Linked DNA regions of Homo sapiens: all the other regions are linked to region 2. Evidence: promoter capture Hi-C in human tissues and cell types (Jung and others, 2019). All regions are on one chromosome and are shown on one strand. Each heading gives the region's core, a stretch centred on a gene start or on the middle of the fragment in contact. The rest is flanking DNA. Distances are from core to core; before and after follow the strand shown. Region 1 holds the start of SMTNL2 (smoothelin like 2). Region 2 holds the start of C17orf107 (chromosome 17 open reading frame 107). Region 3 overlaps SPNS2-AS1 (SPNS2 antisense RNA 1).

Region 1 (2,912 bases), core at 353-2,852, 320 kb before region 2:
AGACCAGCCTGTCCAGTCCCTCTCAAGGCTTCTCCACACGGTCCTTCCTTGGATCTTAGAAGGGAAGGGACTGGGCTTCTGTGGCTGAGACCAGGGTTTTTGAACTCCAGGTTCTTGTGCTGAGACCTGGAGGGGCTTTGAGTGCTGTCTGCGGCAAGAGCAGCAGCAGCGTCTCTGGAGGCTGCTACTAAAGATTCCACCTGGAGAAAGCATTCAGGGAGCAGTTTGGCTCACCCTGTCCAGATGGCTACCTGGAATGCACACACATGCTCACACATATATGCAGCATGCACACCTTTTGGCATTTGCCTTTTTCATGAAATAATTGCTGGAAGGCTCCTTGGATTAGGTAACCCAGCGTTCCTTCCTGTCCCCTTGGGGCTGGGGGCGGGGGAGAGAACCAGCATTTAGCATCTGTCAGGCTGCTCCAGTTCCTTTGGGGCAATGATGGCCAGTCCAGGAGGGTTTGTGGGCTCCAAACAACCTTGGGAGCAGAACATGATATGAACAAGCCTTTCAGACTTCTCCTTCCTGCAGGTCAGCTGGCTATGCATGCCCAGCCTCTGGGCCTCTTTCAGGCAGGCCAGGCTTGGGAAAAAGAAGGCCAATTAGGAAAGGTTTTTTGCACAAAGGAGGATATGTTCTCATTTTTATTTTAAATCAGCTTTATGATATAGCGAAAACTTAGAGTTAGCTTTGCCCATCATCCCATCGTCCTAAAGCAACACCTGTTTCCCTTCTTCCCTTTTCTGGTGATGGTTTGGGGTGTGCATTTGGAAGGGGGAACTATCTGGGTTCAGCCATAAAGAGCATTGAGAAGGAATAGGGGTAAGACCCCTGGCCTACGGGTAGAGGCCAGTGACTGAGACTCTCATTGCGGGAGGGGGCGATTAGTCGCAAAGCCGCCCATTCCAGGATTTGGAGATGCAGCTCCAGCACACCCTTCTTTCTCTGTCTGCCCTTAGCCTCTCCAGGATCTCCTAACGGAGGCCCCTTGGTGGGTCGGGAGCCTCTACCGACCACTAGTGGGAAGGGCACGAAGATCTTGCTATACAGAGTAGGACTGGGAGGGGACAGCGCGTAGTCGCAGAGTCAGGGAGGGGACCTCACCACCTGTCTCCTCCCTGAGGTCTTAGAACAGATACAAGAAATTCCAGGCGAAGGTCCCACAGGTGAGCGTGTGCCTGCGAGAGCCGTGGCCGCTGCATAGGGAGGGCCCCGCGGAGTGGGGCGGCAGCTGTGGGAGCTGTAGGTGTCCCCATTAGCCCGGGAGTCTCCGCCCCCGGAGGAACCTGGGCCTTGCGGGTGAGAGTCCCGAGCGAACGCGTCAGCCCGGGTGTGCTCTCTACGGTCCAGGGGGGCCAGGGCCTTCTTCGGGTGGGCCCGCCGCCCCTCCCGCAGGCCGCACGCCGCTCCTCCGGGGTCGCAGGGCTCAGTTAAGAGCCGGGGAGGGGAGAGGCTGGGCGAGCTCTCCCTCCGCACCGTCCCGCTGGGCTCCAGGGCAGGGGGGTGTCCCGGAGTCGTCCCCGGCTCCGCCCCCGAGGCCCCGCCCCGCGCCCGCCTCCCCGGCAGCCCCTCGAGCGAAGCCAGCCACGGACGGCCAGTCGCGGCCCGGAGCTGCGGAGCTCGGATCTTCTCCCCCGTCTGGCCCGCTCTCGACCCGCGCGCTCTGCTGGGCCATGGAGCCGGCCCCCGACGCCCAGGAGGCGCGCACTGTGCGCGAGGCGCTGGGCCGCTACGAGGCGGCGCTGGAGGGTGCGGTGCGCGCGCTGCACGAGGACATGCGGGGGCTGCAGCGCGGCGTGGAGCGGCGAGTGGCAGAGGCGATGCGCCTGGCCGGCCCCCTGGCGCGCACGGTGGCCGACCTGCAGCGGGACAACCAGCGGCTGCAGGCGCAGCTCGAGCGCCTGACGCGCCAGGTGGAGGCGCTGGGCTTGGCCAGCGGGATGTCCCCGGTGCCCGGCACTCCCGGCACGCCCAGCCCCCCGCCCGCGCCCGGGGTTCCCGACCGCGCGCCCCGCCTGGGCAGCGCACGCTTCGCCAGCCACGCCACCTTCTCGCTGTCCGGCCGCGGCCAGGTGAGCCCGGGGGAGCGCGTGCGCTGGCGCCAGGGAGTGGGGCTCCGAACCGGGTGCCGCCCCTTCGCCCCGACTGCCTGCCTCTGCTCGCGTCTGCGGGGTTGGGGCCTTCACCGGCCGCTCGGACTAGGTGATGGGGGTCCTGCCGCCCCTCCGGAGTTGGAGAGGGCGGGGGGAGGACCGCTGAGCCTGCCAGCTGCACCTGTCTTGGTCCTCCGCCCTGTTTTAGAGCCAGGCTCTGTTTGCTCAGAGTCCTGTCTCCCTCTCTCCTCTGTCCCATGACATCAACGGCTTGGGCGCCGAAGTCCGGCCCCTGACTGTTCAGCACTGCCTGGAGCCACGCGGGGCATGTTGGAATGGTCGACACCCCTGCCTGACCCCCACCCTCCATTCACGCTCCCCTGCGTTGCCGCTTCACTGAGGCCTGACGGCTCTGGTTATTGATTAACTCAGATTGAGAACTCAGGCCCCTGGATGGGTGGGGAGGGGGGTCGAGGGGGACGCGATCAGCAGCGGCTTTTGGGAACTCTCCATCGCAGGGGGTAAATCCCTTACCGTGAAGGGAGAGAGGTGGAAACCCGCCTTGAGCCGTGTCTAGATTCCTCGGGTCAGTGACTAGCCAGAGGCCCACACCACGTGGGGATAGGGCGGAGGCCGACGTGGACCAGTCACTACCTTGCGCATGGGCCACCCAGAGCAGTTAGAATGTGTCCATGGTGTGTGCAGTGGCCCTTGGGTGGGATTTTCCATCCTGATCAGGCATGTGCTCTCGGGTTGGGTTCCCAGGATCTGGGGCTGTGTAGCCTGCACCTGCTCCCTCCTTGGTGCAATCCC
Region 2 (2,500 bases), core at 1-2,500:
TGTTTGGTTCCCACCCGCTCCAGCAGAGCCAGACCAGGGAAGAAGAGGGTTTCCTGGCTACAGCCTCCCTGTGTGCAAGTCCTGCAAAGGGGTCTCCTGTTTGGCTATGAAATGAATATAGATAGATAGCTCACAAGCTGGCAGCCACCAGAGTCCCGTGGGGCTGAGCCTTAGAAAGGCTGGGAGGTCAGCAAGGCTGAATGAAGGGCAGTCCTTGCTTTCTGGAAGACTGGCACCTGAGAGCCTATGTGAACCCTTTCCTCCTGCTGACCCCTGGACTGCGGCCAGGCCTACACACGCCAGGGAACGGGCACACACCATTCTTGTGAAGTTCACAAACTGCAGATTGATCAGCAGGGGGAAGGGATCATAATGCCGTGGTGGCGGCAGCCTACTTTTTCAAAATCAATTTCCTACTGGAGATGGGTGGGAAATTGAAGTCGGTGCGAGCTAAGGCTGGATACACGGCGCGTAGGGGAGATCAGGCACTCGGTTGAAGTAGGCCCCGAGGAAGATGAGGCTGGAGCCCACGCTGAAGAGCACCAGAGCGGCCCAGAAGCAGATGTTGTCAAGGGCATTCCCCATGCGCACCCAGTCGGACACTTCCTGGGGAAGGGTCGGCACAGTCAGTAAAGAGGCAGCTGCAGGAGCCAGCGGCATGGGAGACAGTGGTGGGCCTCTGCCTCGCTCCACCCGCCTCTGGCTCCTGTCCCACCTCGCCGGTGGCCTCCTGATCTCTCGTGCTCTCGGCCACGAAGTTCACGGCATCCACACAGCAGCGGACCTCGGGGGCGGCGGCGCCCAGGCTCTGGCAGAAGGCAGCTGGCGGGGAAAACACCGGGGTGGGCCTTAGGAGCCTCCCCCCTGGCAGGCACCCCGCGCGGCCCCCCGGGCCAGGGCCACTGTGCTCACCCGTCCAGGTCCCCTGCCGGTGCCTCTGCCCCTCAAACACGAGCTCGCTCCGTGGCTTTTTCAGTATCAGCTCCTCCGCGCGGAGCAATAAGCCCACCGACGACGCCCGCCTTGGGGGCGAGGCGGCCCGGGGGGCCTCGGGCGGCGGCGGGGAGCCCAGGAGGCGCGGCAGCAGCTCCAGGAGAACCTGGGGCAGGGGCGGGGCTTAGGGGACGAGGTTAGTACGAAGCCCCACCCCGACCCGGGCTGCACCGCCCCCTCCGCGCTTACGTGGCGCAGCCGCGGGGACATGGCGTGGGTGGTGGGCGTCCGCTGGGACACGTTGAGCACGATGACGCAATTCATGACAATGAGCGTGGCGACCACCATGACGAAAATAAGGAACCTGAGGAGCCCGGAAGGCATGACATCACCGTTCCTCCTCCCAGCTACCGAAGGCGCCGCGCGCTGACCTCACAAACACGGCTTCTCCTGGTACGGGCTGGTTACGCCCTCCAGCTGCGCCCCCTACACGACGACAGACGCGTCCCCCAGCCCTTCTCCTGTCCTACCACTTGTGGCGGCCATGAAGGGGACCCCCAGCTCCCTGGACACCCTGATGTGGATCTACCACTTCCACAGCTCCACCGAGGTGAGGCTACGCCCGCCAAGGGCTGCACCTCGAGACCTTCTGGGTAGGTCTCCTGTTCGCCCCTGTGACCCCTGCCCTGCTACTCTACTGCTCTGCTCCTTCTCCAGGTGGCCCTCCAGCCCCCGCTTCTGTCTTCCCTGGAACTCTCCGTGGCCGCAGCCCATGAATATCTGGAGCAGAGGTTCAGAGAGCTGAAGTCCCTGGAGCCACCCGAACCGAAGATGCAGGGGATGCTGCCTGCCCCGAAGCCCACCCTGGGGCTGGTGTTGAGAGAAGCCACAGCCAGCCTCGTGAGCTTCGGCACCACCTTGTTAGAGGTGGGGTACTGGGGGGCTTAGGATACGCGGCGATCGGGTAGCGGGAACAAGGACCTCTGCCTCCCCGCTAACCCCTGTGCCCCCAATGCAGATCTCAGCCCTGTGGCTGCAGCAGGAGGCGCGGCGACTAGACGGCAGCGCGGGCCCAGCCCCAGACGGCAGGGATCCGGGTGCAGCGCTGAGCCGGGTAGCCCAAGCCGCAGGGCAGGGGGTTCGGCAAGCTGGGGCTGCGGTGGGCGCCAGCGCCCGGCTCCTAGTCCAGGGAGCATGGCTATGCCTGTGTGGACGGGGTCTGCAGGGGTCTGCCTCATTCCTGCGACAGTCGCAACAGCAGCTAGGCCTCGGAATCCCCGGAGAACCGGTGAGCTCAGGACACGGGGTGAGTTAGGGGCCAGAGGCGGCGGGGCTAGGGAGGCACTGAGCCGGACTGTCCCCCAAGAGAGCTACTCGGGAGACCTCCAGGTGACGTCCAGCAGCAGTGAGGAGGACGGCGGACCAGGGACTCCATCCCCGTACCAGCCCCACCCAGCGTCCGAATAAAGCCCAGGGCGGGGCGAGACAGCCAGAGCTTTTCCCGGGGTCTCTGGGTTTTGGCCACGCCCCCACCCTTCACACTGGCCACACCCCCGCGGGGGCTCCG
Region 3 (2,722 bases), core at 133-2,632, 400 kb before region 2:
ATAGGAGGACAGGGGCTATAGAATAGTGCCCCAATTCTTGCCCCTCCCCCAGGCTCCAGGAAGTATTATAACTGTGAGTTCAAGAAGCTCCATGTTCAGTGTGGCAGAGGGTAATTTTGAGAGATGGGCCGTAGGATCTGAGGCTGGAGATTGTCATGGGTTGTGAAAAGTTGTGAAGGCTCTTGGAGATCATTAAGGAATGTAGTTTTTTTTTTTGAAACAGAGTCTCGCTCTGTCACCCAGACTGGAGTGCAGTGGCGCGATCTCGGCTCACTGCAAGCTCCGCCTCCTGGGTTCACGCCATTCTCCTGCCTCAGCCTCCCGAGTAGATGGGACAACAGGCGCCCACCACCACGCCCAGCTAATTTTTTGTATTTTTTAGTAGAGACAGGGTTTCACCATGTTAGCCAGGATTGTCTCGATCTCCTGACCTCGTGATCCGCCCGCCTCGGCTTCCCGAAGTGCTGGGATTACAGGCGTGAGTCACTGCGCCCGGCCAGGAACGTAGACATTTTTAACCCTATAGCCAGTGAAGAGCCTTAGAAAGGTTTTGCTCAAGGTAGTGATGAGGTCCTTTGTGGGATTCAGAAAGTGACTGATAAGCAATATGGAGAAACGACTGGAGGGCCGGCCGAGCACAGTGGCTCACGCCTGTAATCCCAGCACTTTGGGATGCCAAGGTGGGTGGATCACTTGAGGCCAGGAGTTCGAGACCAGCCTGGCCAACATGATGAAACCCCGTCTCTACTAAAAATAAAAAAAATTAGCCGGGCATGGTGGTGCACACCTGTAATCCCAGCTACTCAGGAGGCTGAGGCAGGAGAATTGCTTGAACCCAGGAGGCAGAGGTTGCAGTGAGCCGAGATTGTGCCATTGCACTCCAGCCTGGGTGACAGAGCAGGACTCCGTCTCAAAAAACAAACAAACAAAACTGGAGGGGGATGTGGGAACAGGTAATGTTGAGCTTTACAAGGGTCCAGGTAAGACACAGAGAGGCCTGAGCTAAGCCAGTGGGCAATGTGGACGTGGGGAGATGTTCAAGAGAGGAAATTGAAAGCCCTTAGATGTGGCTGTTGAGGAGAAGGAGCCCCACATGGCTCCCAGGCTTTCTGCTTGGCGACAGTGTGGATGATGGTGTTTTTGACAAAAGATAAATGATACCAGAGTGGGAGCAGGTTGGGGGAAGGATGACAAGTTCAGTTTCAAATGTGCTGAGCCTAAGGTACATGTGGGATATCTGGTGGGGGGCACGTGTAGGAGGCTGCATATGGATCTCGTGTTTGGAGATGAGGCCCTGTCTAGAGATGGAGGTTGGGGTGTCATAGTCACATGGATGATCATTGAAAGTTGAGGCCACAGCTGCACATGGTGCTCACCCCTCTAACCCCAGCATTTTGGTAGGCTGAGGTGGGAGGATCACTTGAGCCCTAGAGTTTGAGACCAGCCTGGTCAACATAGTGAGACCTTTTTCCTAAAAAAAAAATTGCTGGGTGTGGTGGTGCACGCTTATAGTCCCAGCCTTTTGGGAAGCTGAGGTGTGGATCCTCAGGAGAGGAAGACTCTTCTTTTTTATATATATATTTTTATTTTTTATTATTATTTTTTTCTTCCTGAGATGGAGTCTTGCTCTGTCACCCAGGCTGGAATATGAAAGTCTCCGTTTCTCTGTCTTTGCTCCTGTCTGTCTTGGCTCTCTTTTTTTTGTTTTTTGTTTTTTTGTTTTTTGTTGTTGTTGTTGTTTTGAGACAGAGTCTCACTCTGTCACCCACGCTGGAGTGCAGTGGTGTGATCTCGGCTCACTACAACCTCCGCCTCCTGGGTTCAAGCAATTCTCCTCCCAAGTAGCTGGGATGACAGGCGCATGCCACCACACCCAGCTAATTTTTGTGTTTTCACTAGAGATGGGGTTTCTCCATGTTGGCTAGGCTGATCTTGAATTCCTGACCTCAAGTGATCTGCTCGCCTTGGCCTCCCAAAGTGCTGGGATTACAGGCATGAGCCACCGCGCCCAGCATCAGGAAGCCCCTTCTTAAGGAGGATCCCTTGAGCCCAAGAGGTCAAAGTTATGATGAGCTATGATTGCACCACTGCGTTCCAGCCTGGGTGACAGAGAGAGACCCTGCCTCTTAAAAATTTTTTCAAAAAAAGTAAATTTCAGGCCTAGGTGAGAGGCTGCCAAGGGGGAAGGGAAACAACCGAGGCCTGAGCCCTGGAGACACTCCCATGTGGGAGGATGGGCAGAGGGCAGATGGGCTGAGCTCCCAATTACCAGCCAAGGAGGAGCAAGTGCATTCTAGGCCAGTGTTTCTCAGAGTGTGTCCTGCAGAGCTCTCGTCTTGCAAGACATTCTGTGGTCACACACACCTGGGAACGTGGCATCCTATATCTCCCTCTGGGAGACTCAGAGCATGTATTCTCATAGTAAAGGCTCTCAAAAGTCCCTAAGGAAACCTACTTTTCTGTGTTTATCCCACTACTTCCCAAGTATGACTGCTCTTTGAATAATGGCCATTAATGTTCTGTGCCCCATTTTTTTCTTTTTTGTGTGTGTTCTTTTCTTTTTTTCCCCCCACTTTTGTTTTTTGTTTTTGTTTTTGTTTTTGAGATGGAGTCTCACTCTGTCACCGAGGCTGGAGTGCAGTGGCATGATCTTGGCTCACTGCAACCTCTGCCTCCCAAGTTCAAGCAATTCTCCTGCCTCAGCCTCCTAAGTAGCTGGGAT

The links. Contacts are between HindIII fragments. The study calls those that stand out against the background at their distance.
Region 1: a contact is called between the fragment with the promoter of SMTNL2 here and the fragment with the promoter of C17orf107 in region 2, in 2 of the 25 tissues and cell types used here (lymphoblastoid cells and spleen).
Region 3: a contact is called between a fragment that was not itself captured here and the fragment with the promoter of C17orf107 in region 2, in 1 of the 25 tissues and cell types used here (lymphoblastoid cells).

The regions. Positions count from the first base shown.
Region 1 is chr17:4,582,927-4,585,838 of GRCh38, forward strand. It overlaps SMTNL2 (smoothelin like 2), which reads left to right and starts at 1,603. Exons shown (of 8, transcript NM_001114974.2): 1 at 1,603-2,078. The coding sequence starts at 1,680. RefSeq lists enhancers at 722-1,341, 1,342-1,961, 2,582-2,912. The HindIII fragment of the contact is 15,336 bases long and covers 1-2,912 here.
Region 2 is chr17:4,898,286-4,900,785 of GRCh38, forward strand. It overlaps C17orf107 (chromosome 17 open reading frame 107), which reads left to right and starts at 1,251. Exons shown (of 3, transcript NM_001145536.2): 1 at 1,251-1,543; 2 at 1,651-1,860; 3 at 1,952-2,500. The coding sequence starts at 1,478. The coding sequence ends at 2,248. CHRNE (cholinergic receptor nicotinic epsilon subunit) reads right to left here. Exons shown (of 12, transcript NM_000080.4): 9 at 1,183-1,297; 10 at 913-1,099; 11 at 716-822; 12 at 1-606. The coding sequence ends at 451. RefSeq lists silencers at 848-997, 1,018-1,127 and an enhancer at 1,328-1,637. The HindIII fragment of the contact is 33,281 bases long and covers 1-2,500 here.
Region 3 is chr17:4,493,502-4,496,223 of GRCh38, forward strand. All of the region lies in intron 2 of SPNS2-AS1 (SPNS2 antisense RNA 1), which reads right to left. Among named protein-coding and RNA genes, the nearest start is that of SPNS2-AS1, 3.9 kb to the right of the region's middle. The HindIII fragment of the contact is 5,950 bases long and covers 1-2,722 here.